Regions from separate parts of the Homo sapiens genome. Here all the other regions are linked to region 1. The links are contacts of gene promoters, found by promoter capture Hi-C in blood cells and fetal thymus (Javierre and others, 2016). All regions are on one chromosome and are shown on one strand. The core of a region is centred on a gene start or on the middle of the fragment in contact, and the rest is flanking DNA. Distances in the headings are between cores, read along the strand shown.

Region 1 (3,004 bases), core at 467-2,966:
CCATGGGCTAAGGACCTCCACTGTGGCCCAGTGGGCCTCTGGGAGCCCTGTAGGGTGGGGACCCAAAAAGGTCCTGGGGGGCAGCCCAAACCAGCAGCTGGGAGTCACTCTTGCGGTCAGGACAGTGCACACCTCCCACCTGCTTGCCAGCTGCCCTCATAGGCCACACTCCCTTCCCTGAGCATTGTCCCCACTGGAACAGGGGCCACCATTCCAGCCTCTGCTCCCAAGCCCAGTGGGGACCTTCCTGACAACCACCCCCGGGGACTAATACTAATGCATGCCACATGCCACATCCCTGTTCCCTTGGCCCTGCTCTGCTGTCCCCAGTGACTCAATGCCAGGGGCTGCAGGCCTGATCCATGGGACCCCACTCAGCCAGCTCCAGGTGCCTGGCCAGGGCATGTACCTAACCCAGGCTCCCCGCCAAGGCCAGGTGCCCAGGGGAATTCTGCCAGCCATGGTGATGATGGCCACCCCAGCTGACTGCAGCCTGGGTTTCCTGCAGTGCATGTTGAAAGATAAACAGGCACGGACTGGTGCAGCCCAAGGGGTCCCGCCCGGGCCCTGGCTGGGCAAGAGGATGTCTGCCTTAGGCCCCCACCTGCTCTGAGCCCTGGCCTGGACAATCCCAAGGGCCTTCAGAAACCTAAGCTGGTCCAGGCCTGTGGCCTGGGAGGTGTCCCTTCCCTTCCCAGGCTGGAGCCAAGCTGGCCAGCTGGGGGTATGGCAGGACACCCATATCCCCAAGCCCCTCGCTCCACGAAGGACTTCTGTCCCTGACAGCCATGTGTCCTGCACCCTCAGGTCCACTGGCTGCCCAGGCAGTGCTGGGAAAGCCGGGGTTCACAGCTCCAAACAGTAGACCCAGCCCCCAGAGCAGGTGGGGGGACCAGGAGGCAACAGAGTGGATCAGGCTCGGGGAGAACTGACCCCAAAGGACAAATGGGTGCAGAGATTCAGGCTGGCCAAGGCTGGCACAAGGACATTCCCAGTGGCGAGAGCATGAGCAAGGGTCACGGATGTGCCAGGAGGGGAGGCGGAGAGATGCCTGGGACCAACCTCTATGGCAGGCCGCGGCCCAAGGGCAGGGGAGGGGTGGACGGAGGGAAGGGACAGGGTCTCCTCCGGGACCCCAGGGAGGCTGGGCCCAAGGACCATGGAGCCTCGCAGCTGAATGGAGCCCCCCAGGCCTGCCTTCTGTCCTGGGAACCAGGGCCTCCCTCGAGCCAGAGTCCTGAGCGCCGCTTGCCCCCCGCCCACAGCGGCCCCAGCGAGCGCGCTGCAGAGGGCGCGGGTGCCGTGACTCAGCCGAGCACCGCGATGTCAGCGGACGCGGGACCGGACTGGACACGACCGAGCCACCTCCCCGGAGGCCGCAGCGCCGGCAGGCGAGGGCAGGGCCCGGCGGGGAGGGGGCTCGGGCCCGCGCCGCCCCCAGCGCCCGCCGGGGTCTGCGCGCGCCCGGCCGTCCGCACGTGCGCGCGGGGAGCGCGCCTCTGGCCGCGGTGCGCGCGGCCTCGGGCTGAGGGCGGGCGCGTGGGGTGGGCTCACCGGGCTCCGGCGTTTGAGCGTCACGTTCTTCCAGAGCAGCAGCTGCAGCTGGTGCAGGAAGCCCATGGCGGGGCCACGCTCCGCCGCCTCAGCGCCGCGGCCCGCTCCTCTGCGCGCCCCGCCGGGCCCCGCAGCCCGCCGCGCCGCTGGGCATCGCCCGCGCGGGGGCGGGGCGCTCGGGCGTCCGGGACCCGATCCGCGCTGGCTCCGCCCCGGCGGCCGCGGCGACAGCGACTCTGCCCGCGCCCCGCCCGCCCCCGCTTAAAGGCGCCGCGCTCCGTCCGCGCCCGCCAGGAGGCGCCCGCCGCCCGCGCCGCGCCCGGGACCGACCCGGGCCCGAGACCCTGCGCGCGCCGCCGCCGGGAAGCCTCCGGGCCGCCCCTCGCCGGGCGTCACGCGACGCGCCCACATCGAATCCGAGACCCCGGCTTAGCCTTCGTAGGCCGGGGGACCCTCGGGCGCTGCGCTCTTCTCCCAGAGGCATCCGGCTGCGCCCACCGCGCTGGCGACTCTGCAGAGGCGCCCCAAGCCTTCACTGTCCCCGGGGCGCGCCGAGCGGACGCTGGCGAGGGGCCAGCTCACCCCCGTAAGGGTCTCCTGTGTGCTTTGTAAACCAGCACTTGGAGTCCAGGTGGTGCCCACCTGGAAGGGAGGCAGGGCGGCCAGGTGGGTCCGTCCCGCGATTCCGAGCAGCCAGCGGAAGGGGGGAAACTCGAGGCCCCAGGAACGCTCGCCGTGAGCGGAGCAGGCAGGGGACCGAGGCGGCCCCTGCTGCACGCGGCTCGTTTTTCTCCCCATATTCGGGCGAGTCTGGTCTCTGCACAGGGAGTTCGGGATCAGGCGGTTCTGCGGCTGTGGCTTGGCACCTGCTGGGGCGCCCCGGGAGGTGGGGCAGTTCCTCCGCGTGGCCTGTAGAGAGCGACAGAGGACAGGCTGACCCCATGGGTGGCTCTGACGGCGCTTCCCAGACTCAGTTTCCCCCCTGTGAATGGGGTGGAGTAGCGCTGTGTGGTGTCCAGTGTCAGGGCGCACATAGAAGGCGCATCCTCAAGTGAATGAAGACCTCCGAGGCCACAGCTCCCCACTCCTCCCAGCTCCTTTGCAGCAGGAAGGTGACCCTGGGCTAGTGAGTGAGGGATCAGCTTCCCACCCCAGCCCGCAGCCTCAAGGCACTTGCTTTTCTCTGCTCAGTCCACAGGGCTGGGTCAGGGCAGGAAGCTACCAGCAGGTCTTTCCCACAAGCCACAGCCATGGGTGAGGGGGGCTTCCTGCCCTCAACCTGCCCACCCCTACCTGGGGTAGGGACAAGCCCTGTGCCCCAGCCCCGGGGGCTTAGCCTGTTGGGGCCCTGGTCAGCACCACCCGTGGGTTGGCCTCTCTCCTCCTCGCCCCACTCTCCACCGTCCACTACAGGGGCTCCCTGGCTGCAGCCGCATCCCCAGTGCCTCCC
Region 2 (3,149 bases), core at 161-2,660, 260 kb after region 1:
TGGGTTCAAGCGATTCTCCTGCCTCAGCCTCCCGAGTAGCTGGGATTACAGGCGCCCGCCATCACGCCCGGGTAATTTTTTTGTATTGTTGGTAGAGACGGTGATTCACTATGTTGGCCAGGCTAGTCACGAACTCCTGACCTCGTGATCCGCCCACCTCGGCCTCCCAAAGTGCTGGGATTACAGGTGTGAGCCACCGTGCCCGGCCTCTTTTTATTTATTCCTAAAATATTACCTTGAGGCCAAATTCTGCGCTTAAGGAGAATGTGCACCAAGTGCTGGGGTGGGGGCTGGTAATAAACGAGGCCACAAATCATGCTTGTTAATAAATTGTGTGGTTCAAATCTGACGACCTACTGTTTGGTTTGTTTCTTGTCTGTCTGGTCTGTTAATAATTGAGGAGGATGCTGAAATCTTTCCCTAATTGTAGATTTATGGTAGATTTATCCATTTCTCTCTAAGCTTCTATTTAATAGGACATGCTGATCGAGAGTTTTGTTTTTTGTTTTGTTTTGAGAAACTTCTGAATGGGGAAGTGGTGTGGACCTGGAGGCTGATGGAAGGATTGGGGCTCACATGCAGTCTGCAGCTCAAACATCCGGGCTTTCCAGGAAATCCATAAATAACTAAAGTATTTTCTTTAATTGCCCTGGACAGGTGCTGAGGGCAGATGACCCAGGCTGGACATGCGGGAAGTTGCCAGCTAACCAGATGATCCCAAATGTCATAGCTGCTCTCCCTCATATGTGCAGAAACTGTTTCTGTGCAGTTGTCTCTGAGTTATTCTTTGACATCTGCCATGTGTCATTACGTAGTAACCCTCGTGATCTGTGTGTGCACATCATAATGACTTTTTTTTTTTTTTTTGAGACAAGGTCTCGCTCTGTCACCCAGGCTGGAGTGCAGTGGTGTGATCTCCACTCACTGCAGCCTCCACCTCCTGGGTTCAAGTAATTCTCCTGCCTCAGCCTCCTGAGTAGCTGGAATTACAGACGCCCACCACCACACCCAGCTAATTTTTGTATTTTTAGTAGGGACTCAGTTTCACTATGTTGGCCAGGCTGGTCTCGAACTCCTGACCTCAGGTGATCTACCCATCTCAGCCTCCCAAAATGCTGGCATTACAGTTGTGAGCCAACGTGCCTGGCTTCTCTTTTCTTTTAATAGAGACAGGTTCTCTCTGTCATTCAGGCTGGAATGCAATGGCGTGATTGTGGCTCACTACAGCCTCGACCTCCTGGGCTCAAGCGATTCTCCCACCTCGGCCTTCCAAAGTGCTGGGATTCCAGGCGTGAGCCGCCGCGCCTGGCCATTCTCTGCATTTTTCAAGGTCAGCAACACTGCATCCTTCCGACCACAGCCAGGAAGAGTTTTCTGCTTTTAAAGACCCATGTGACTAGATGTGTCCACCTGGGCCAGGCGCAGTGGCTCACGCCTATAATCCCAGCACTTTGGGAGGCCAAGGCGGGCAGATCACCTGAGGTCAGGAGTTCAAGACCAGCCTGGCCAACATGGTGGAACCCTGTCTCTACTAAAAATACAAAAATCAGTCGGATGTGGTGTCGAGTTCCTGTCATCCCAGCTACTTGGGGGGCTGAGGTAGGAGAATCGCTTGAATCCAGGAGGTGGAGCTTGCAGTGAGCCAAGACCCTGCGACTGCACTCCAGCCTGGACGACAGAGTGAGACTATGTCTCAAAAAAGATAAAATAAATAAGTAAATGTGTCCACCTGGGTAATAACGGATTATCTTCCCATCCAAGGTCCACACTTACCTACATCTGCAAAGTCCCTGAGTCAGTTTTGGTAATTTGTGTCTTTCTTGGAACTTCTAGGAATTTGTCCATTTCATCTAAATTGTCTAATTTTATTGATTTTTTTTTTTTGAGACAGTCTTGCTCTATCGCCCAGGCTGGAGTGCAGTGGCTCGATCTTGGCTCACTGCAACCTCTGCCTCCTGGGTTCAAGGGATTCTCCTGCTGTAGCCTCCCTAGTACCTGGGACTACAGGTGTGTGCCACCATGCCCAGCTAATTTTTTGTTTTGTTTTGTTTTGAGACGGAGTTTCACTCTTGTTGTCTAGGCTGGAGTGCAATGGTGCGATGATCTCGGCTCATTGCAACTTCCACCTCCTGGGTTCAAGCAATTCTCCTGCCTCAGTCTCCCGAGTAGCTGGGATTGCAGGCACGCACCAACATGCTCAGCTAATTTTTGTATTTTTAGTAGAGACAGGGTTATACCATATTGGACAGGCTGGTCTCAAACTCCCCACTTACAGTGATCCTCCAGCCTAGACCTCCCAAAGTGCTGGGATTACAGGCGTGAGCCACCATGCCTGGCCCTAGGCAAACTTTTTGAAATAAAGCTTTTTTTTTTTTTTTTGGTTTGTTTGTTTGAGACAGGGTCTCACTCTGTCACCTAGGCTGGAGGGCAGTGGTGCAATCTCAGCTAGTGGTGCAATCTTGGCTCACTGCAGCCTTAAACTCCCAGGTTCAAGCGATTCTCCTGCCTTGGCCTCCTGAGTAGCTGGGACCAGAGGCGTGTGCCACCATGTCCTGGTAATTTTTGTTTTTTTTTTTTTTTTTGAGACAGAGTCTCGCTCTGTTGCCCAGGCTGGAGTGCAGTGGCGCGATCTCTGCTCACTGCAAGCTCCGCCTCCTGGGTTCATGCCATTCTCCTGCCTCAGCCTCCCAAGTAGCTGGGACTACAGGCGCCCATCACCACGCCTGGCTAGTTTTTTGCATTTTTTTTTTTTGAGATGGAGTCTTGCTCTGTCATCCAGGCTGGAAGTGCAGTGGCGCAATCTTGGCTCACTGCAAGCTCCGCCTCCCGGGTTCTCGCCATTCTGCCTCAGCCTCCTTAGTAGCTGGGATTACAGGCGCCTGCCACCATGACTGGCTAATTTTTTTTTTTGCATTTTTTTAGTAGAGACGGGGTTTCACCATGTTAGCCAGGATGGTCTCGATCTCCTGACCTCATGATCCGCCCTCCTCGGCCTCCCAAAGTGCTGGGATTACAGGCATGAGCCACCGTGTCCGGCCCCACATTGGGTAGTTTCTATTGATCTAGTCTCAAATTGCATGGCGAGCACATACAATTCCAGCTGCCCGGGAGGCTGAGGCAGGAGAATCACTTGAATCCAGGAGGCAGAG
Region 3 (2,934 bases), core at 435-2,934, 140 kb before region 1:
TCGGCTCACTGCAACCTACGCCTCCCGGGTTCAAGTGAATCTCCTGCCTACTCAGTCTCCTGAGTAGCTGTGAGTACAGGCGCGTACCACCATGCCCAGCTAATTTTTGTACTTTTAGTAGAGACAGGGTTTCAACATGTTGGCCAGAATGGTCTCGATCTCTTGACCTCATGATCTGCCCACCTCGGCCTCCCAAAGTGCTGGGGTGAGCCACCGCGCCCGGCCTTTTGTATTTTTTTAGTAGAGACGAGGTTTCACCATGTTGGCCAGTCTGGTCTCAAACTCCTGACCTCAGGTGATCTGCTCGCCTAGGCCTCCCAAAGTGCTGGGATTACAGGCATGAGCCGCCGTGCCTGGCTGTTTTTTCTTTTTTAAAAGAGACAGGGTCAGCCAGGCGCAGTGGCTCATGCCTGTAATCCTAGCACTTTGGGAGGCCGAGGCAGGCAATTGCCTGAGCTCAGGAGTTCGAGACCAGCCTGAGCAACACGGTGAAACCCCGTCTCTACTAAAATACAAAAAAAATTAGCCGGGCGTAGCGGTGTGCGCCGGTAGTCCCAGCTACTCCGGAGGCTTAGGCAGGAGAATTTCTTGAACCCGGGAGGCAGAGGTTGCAGTGAGCCGAGATCGCACCACTGCACTCCAGCCTGGGTGACAGAGCAAGACACCGTCTCAAAAAAGAAAAAAAAGAGACAGGGTCTCACTCTATAGCGCAGCCTGGAGTGCAGTGGTGCAACCACAGCTCACTGCAACCTCCACCTCCTGAGCTTCAGTCATCTTCCTGCCTCAGCCTTCCAAGCAGTTGGGACTACAGGTGTGCAGCACCACACCCAGCTAAATTTTTTTTCCTTTTTTTGGTAGAGATGGGGTTCCCCCATGCTGCCCATGCTGGTTTCGAACTCATGGGCTCAAGCGGTCCTCCTGCCTCAGCCTCCCAAAGTGCTGGGATTATAGGCATGAACTGCCACGTGAACCCTTTCTCATCCCGAGCTGGCTGCTGCAGACTCAGGACAGCTTTGAGCCTCCCAGGTGCAGCCAGGAGGAGACGCCTTCTTACGTTTGAGAGCTCAGTTAGTTCCTGGGCTTGAGCAACCTCACTGAGCCTGCAGGTGCGGACTTGGGACGTTTCCATGGCTGCTTGCAGCAAACTCAGGGGTGATGACGTTGATGGAATCCGATGGCTTCCTGAGTTCCATCTCAAGGCCTTGCTGTCCCAGGAATGTGGGTTTGGGGCGGAGGGGAATTCCAACTGCAAACCAAGTAACATATATGAAATGTGGCATTGGCGCCTGGGGACAGCGTGGCCTGTGTAAATTATGCAACTTCAAAGCCTGCCCTGTTTTGCAGTGTATTCCATCCTTGAGGAGTCCCGTGGTCTCAGGGTCTGAATGCTTGGAGGAGACTTACCTCCGTGAACGTTTCCTTCTCTGCAAAGCGGGGTGAAAGGTCTCCATTTCACCAAAGGCTGGATGGAGAGGGGGTGGTGTGTCCAGTGCTAGCCCGTGCACCGCCAGAGAGAACCTGCTGCAGCTCCCGTTCTCCTGGGCAGATGACAGTGCCGCCTCCCCCATGCAGCCCACAGGACTCCTAGGGCAGCCCCTGTTTTGGCCGCCAAGGCCACTGTTTTCATTTGAGTGTCTGGAGGCCATAGGTTGTGTTTTCACTTGAGGTCGGGAGTTCAAGACCAGCCTGGCCAACATGGTGAAACCTCGTCTCTATCAAAAATACAAACATTAGCCGGGCGTGATGGCGGGCGCCTGTAGTCCCAGCTACTCGGGAGGCTGAGGCAGGAGAATCGCTTGAACCCGGGAGGCGGAGGTTGCAGTGAGTCGAGATCGCGCCACTGAACTCCAGCCTGGGCGACAGAGTGAGCCTCCGTCTCAAAAAAAAAAATAAATAAAGTGCACAACCCAGTAGATTAGCACACCGGCCATGTCGGGCGGCCGTCACCACTGTCCGGTTGCAGAGCATTACCTCACCCCAAAAGGAGACCCCATAGCCTTAATACCTTACTTAAGTGTGCAGTATTCTTTTAGTCCTGTTTCTCATAAATGTTACCCAAATTGAGGCGCCGCTCTGCGCCCGGCACCGGGGGAGGCGGAGGGACCCGCAGGTGTCGGGTAGGTGCGGCCGCCCCGCCAGGGCCCCGCGTCCCGCGCGCGACGCGCGCCTCGTGGGAACCGGTGTCGCCCGGCTTGGGCTCCCGGCTCACCTCTCGGGTGTGCGGCAGGGGTCTCCGCCCCGGGGCCACGGGAGGGGAAGCAAGGGCCTCGCTGTCTCGCCGCACCTGGGGAAGGGACCCAATTAGCGCGGACCCCACAGCGCAGCACCTCACCAGCTCCCCGCACCAACGCCCCGGCGCGCTCTTTGAGGAAAAAGCAGAGGGCGACTTAGGTACCCACGCCGTCTCAGCGCCGACCAATCGGCGCACGCTGCGGCTCCTGCGGGCTCGCTGGTTGGCTCCGGCGTCAGTCCGTCAGGCGCGCTCGGAGCGGGGCGTATCTGGCCAATGGCTCTCGCTACAGCTTCCTGAGGGCTGGCTGGTTGGCTCCCATGTCCGTCCGTCAGGCGCACGCGGCGGAGCGGCGGCGGCGGCGGCGGCGTTGGGGGCGGTAGCTGGGCGGGCCCTTAGTTCCGGGCGCGCTGCGACCGTTGGGTGAGGCGAGCGCGGGGTCGGGTGCGGGGTCGGGCGCGGGCGCGGGGTCGGGTGCGGGGTCGGGCGCGGGGTCGGGCGCAGGCGCGGGCACCTCTCAGGGAGACTCCGGGCCGGAGCGGGAGCGGGGGCGGGAGAGGCCGCGGGGCGGGGGCGGGGCCAGCCCGAGGGGATTTCTCTGAGCCGCTGGGCCGGAAACCAAGTCCGAGCGTGGCTGGCGCGGGAAAGTTCGGGAACGCGCGCGGCCGTGCTCGGAGCAGCGCCAGGGCACGGTCCGGGGTTTT
Region 4 (3,145 bases), core at 120-2,619, 230 kb after region 1:
GGGGCCTTCACCTGCTGGGACCCTGCACTGCCCCTGCCTGCAACTTCGCCTGGCTGGGGCCTCCCTTGTCATCACTGGCCTGCCCTCCTACCCAGGGTCGGGCCCCAAGGCTGCCACCTTGCAGGAGCCTTACCTGCGGTGCCGTCACCCGCACCTCCCCAGGTCCTCCCCAGACCCAGGACCCAGACCAGGCCCAGAGCTCAACCCCTTCAAAAAGGCTCTGGGCAGCTGCTTCTGTGGCCTCAGCACCACCCCCTTTCTCAGAGAGGAATCCCAGGCTCAGGATTGTGTGTGTGCTGTGACCCTTGTCCTCCTCTGCCACCGAACCAGCTGGGGGTTGGATCAAGGCACTGGAACCCTCGCCCTAGGGCTGACCAACTTGGCCAGCGGCAAGAGAGCTGTGGTAGCCATGGCCTTGGGAGCTCGGCCCGGCTTGTGGGAACAGGAGCTCTGCTCACGGCTGCACCACCAGGCACCCCTGGTGAGACCCAAAGCTAGGAGTGGGAGCGGCAGGAAAGATGGAGCGATCTCCTCCAGCTGGGCTGAGGAGGGAGGGCTTCCTGGAGGAGGTGGTGGAGGAAGAAGCCTTCAAGGAAGAGCAAGAGTTTGCTGGGCAGCGGGAAAGAAATTTCTAGAGAAAATTTCAGCAGCGGAGACCGAAAAGAGAGAGGGTGTGTGTAGGGGGCTTGGCGCGGCACAGCCTGCGGGAGGGCGGCGGGCTGGAGAGGCGGGGAGGCCCGGGGAGCCCACCCGCCTGGGATAAGAAGGGACACTGTGGAACCTGGACTCTCCTTCACGGCTCCGCGGAGCTCGGTGGGCGCCACAGCCTCCCGGTGCCTGGGAGGGCGGCCGTCGCTCGCGCTCCCGCTGCGGGCCCGGTCTCCGCCAGGCCCCGGCCCCCTGAAGGCGCTCAGATCTCAGTTTTGGCGACAGCGCCGGGGTGGGCTTCGTGCCCGTTTCACGCGGAGGAACCCACGCTCAGGAGGGAGTCTGCGCCTGTGTCCGGCCCCTGCGGGGCAGAGGGGCGGGGAGCTCAACCCCCGGCAAAACGTCCCCGCTGCGCGTGGCTGCCGCGAGATCTGCAAGAGCGTTTTCCACGCTTATGTACACGAAATTCACTCGGCTGCGACGACGTCCGTTCCCGGAGCAGACGGACCCTGAGTCCGCCCCCCACGCCCTCACCCGCCCTCTTCTGCCAGAAAGCCCGGGCGCGGGCGGGACCGGGTGGGCGCATGCGCGCTGGGCTGGCTGGGCGGGGTCTCTCGCGCCGGGTGAGGGCGCTGCTCCCAGGAACCTGCGCGCGGCCCCGGCGGCGTTTCCCGGGGGCCGGTTGGCGGGCGGACCTGGGCGGTGCGGGGCGGAAGTGGGCGGCTGCGGGACGCGCGCGGAGTCGCGCGGCGGGCGGGACCTGGCCGAGCTGGAGGGCGCCGGGGAGCGGGGCTCGGGCGGTCCCCGAGGCCCGGCGGAGCGGGCTTCTGGGGTGTCTGCGGCGGCGCCGGGGGAACGGGCTGGGGATGGGGCGCCTAGCCGGGCGGTGGCCGGGGCCTCGGCCATGTTCGCGGGGCTGCAGGACCTGGGCGTGGCCAACGGCGAGGACCTGAAGGAGACCCTGACCAACTGCACGGAGCCGCTCAAGGCCATCGAGCAGTTCCAGGTGGGGCGGCCCCCGGGGCGGGGGGAGCCCAGTTGGAGGGCCGGGCCGCCTGCTCGGGAGTCGGGCCTGGCGGAGGCGCCGGAAGTTTTCCGGCTTTCTGCTGGTGGCTGAGTCCTGTTCTGGGGGTGGAGTCCGGAGCCAGCACCCCTTTGCTGGACGGCTGGGTGGCTTTCGGTGGCTGCGGTTACCGCCAGCACGGCTGGGAACACCTGGGTGCGTGCCTCCCTGTGCTCTCAGGACCTCGGGGTGCCCGGGCGCACTGGGCTGCGTTTGAGGTTTCTCTTGGCTTCCTCAGACAGAGAATGGTGTGCTGCTGCCATCTCTTCAGTCAGCCCTCCCCTTCTTGGACCTGCACGGGACGCCGCGGCTGGAGTTCCACCAGTCGGTATTCGATGAGCTGCGGGACAAGCTGCTGGAGCGAGTGTCAGCCATCGCTTCGGAGGGGAAGGCTGAGGAAAGGTGGGTCAGCGGGAGGGGTGGGCAGGTGAGATGTGCAGCCGGCCTCTCAGCCTTGGATCGACTCAGGGGCATTTATTGTCCTTTTGGCTCCACATCCTTGCTCCCAGAGGTGGCCTGGGCCTGTGTCTGAGTGACCCCTTGACCCATGTGTCCTGGGCGTGGAGGCTTGTCCTGGTAGCTGTTATCTGTGTAGGGACAGGCAGGTAGCTGCTGCGATTTGGCGCATCGCTGCACCATCAATCCTGTGAGTTGTTCCAGGTACAAGAAGCTGGAAGACCTTCTGGAGAAGAGCTTTTCTCTGGTGAAGATGCCGTCCCTGCAGCCCGTGGTGATGTGCGTCATGAAGCACCTGCCCAAGGTAGGGCCCTAACCCTAACCCTGATGGCGTGGACCGTCCGCCCACTCTCATGCCCTTGGTTAGTGGAAGTTCCGGTGGCCGCCTAGCTCCGGGAGCTTCCTGTGCTGCCTGCCCAAGTGCTGTCCATGGTGAGCTCTGTGCTGACTTCTCCCACATGAGCCGCGTGGAGACCGAACCTTAGCACTGGAGTTAGGGTGTGGGGCCCCTCCTGGGAAAGAGCTGTTGGTATTTAGCATGTCTGTCTGACATGCTGGGGCCGGGGAACCAGTCATAGGTGCCCTGTGGGGTGGAGCTTAGCTCGAGGTGGTCTCTGCGGGGCTGAGGCCTCTTGGCTTGTCTTGAAGGAGACCCAGGGACACAGGTGCCACTCACAGGCAGCCTGTGGTGTCATGTAGGTTCCGGAGAAAAAACTGAAGCTGGTTATGGCTGACAAGGAGCTGTATCGAGCCTGCGCCGTGGAGGTGAAGCGGCAGATCTGGCAAGACAACCAGGCCCTCTTCGGGGACGAGGTTTCCCCACTCCTGAAGCAGTACATCCTGGAGAAGGAGAGCGCTCTCTTCAGTACAGAGCTCTCTGTCCTGCACAACTTTTTCAGTCCTTCCCCCAAGACCAGGCGCCAGGGCGAGGTGAGGGGACAGGCCGTGTGCGGGGTGGGGCACCTCTTGGGGATGCCA

Evidence for each region. The method cuts DNA at HindIII sites, captures the fragments that hold promoters and counts their contacts. A CHiCAGO score of 5 or more calls a contact.
Region 2: a contact is called between a fragment that was not itself captured here and the fragment with the promoter of ABCA2 in region 1, in 1 of 17 cell types (erythroblasts). The highest score is 5.6, in erythroblasts.
Region 3: a fragment that was not itself captured here is called in contact with the fragment with the promoter of ABCA2 in region 1 in 10 of 17 cell types (total CD8 T cells, naive CD8 T cells, total B cells and 7 more); the score reaches 11.7 in total CD8 T cells.
Region 4: a contact is called between the fragment with the promoter of NELFB here and the fragment with the promoter of ABCA2 in region 1, in 15 of 17 cell types (erythroblasts, endothelial precursors, activated CD4 T cells and 12 more). The highest score is 17.3, in erythroblasts.

Annotation. Positions count from the first base shown.
Region 1 is chr9:137,026,521-137,029,524 of GRCh38, forward strand. ABCA2 (ATP binding cassette subfamily A member 2) reads right to left here and starts at 1,717. Exons shown (of 49, transcript NM_001606.5): 1 at 1,555-1,717. The coding sequence starts at 1,620. It overlaps LINC02908 (long intergenic non-protein coding RNA 2908), which reads left to right and starts at 944. Exons shown (of 3, transcript NR_171031.1): 1 at 944-1,391. RefSeq lists a silencer at 1,795-1,974 and an enhancer at 1,858-2,602. The HindIII fragment of the contact is 3,387 bases long and covers 1-3,004 here.
Region 2 is chr9:137,282,293-137,285,441 of GRCh38, forward strand. TOR4A (torsin family 4 member A) reads left to right here. Exons shown (of 2, transcript NM_017723.3): 2 at 1-349. Among named protein-coding and RNA genes, the nearest start is that of TOR4A, 6.1 kb to the left of the region's middle. The HindIII fragment of the contact is 1,900 bases long and covers 461-2,360 here.
Region 3 is chr9:136,883,889-136,886,822 of GRCh38, forward strand. TRAF2 (TNF receptor associated factor 2) reads left to right here and starts at 2,628. Exons shown (of 11, transcript NM_021138.4): 1 at 2,628-2,653. MIR4479 (microRNA 4479) reads left to right here and starts at 2,845; the gene lies at 2,845-2,915. It overlaps LOC105376326 (a long non-coding RNA gene), which reads right to left and starts at 2,366. Exons shown (of 3, transcript XR_930448.2): 1 at 2,210-2,366; 2 at 1,405-1,462; 3 at 892-1,246. RefSeq lists silencers at 2,053-2,182, 2,403-2,934 and an enhancer at 2,589-2,934. The HindIII fragment of the contact is 4,476 bases long and covers 1-2,934 here.
Region 4 is chr9:137,253,958-137,257,102 of GRCh38, forward strand. It overlaps NELFB (negative elongation factor complex member B), which reads left to right and starts at 1,370. Exons shown (of 13, transcript NM_015456.5): 1 at 1,370-1,654; 2 at 1,950-2,113; 3 at 2,372-2,471; 4 at 2,867-3,097. The coding sequence starts at 1,409. It also overlaps a transcript of CIMIP2A not described here. RefSeq lists silencers at 738-917, 1,108-1,477, 1,488-1,667, 1,708-1,767 and enhancers at 778-1,725, 1,726-2,673. The HindIII fragment of the contact is 15,726 bases long and covers 1-3,145 here.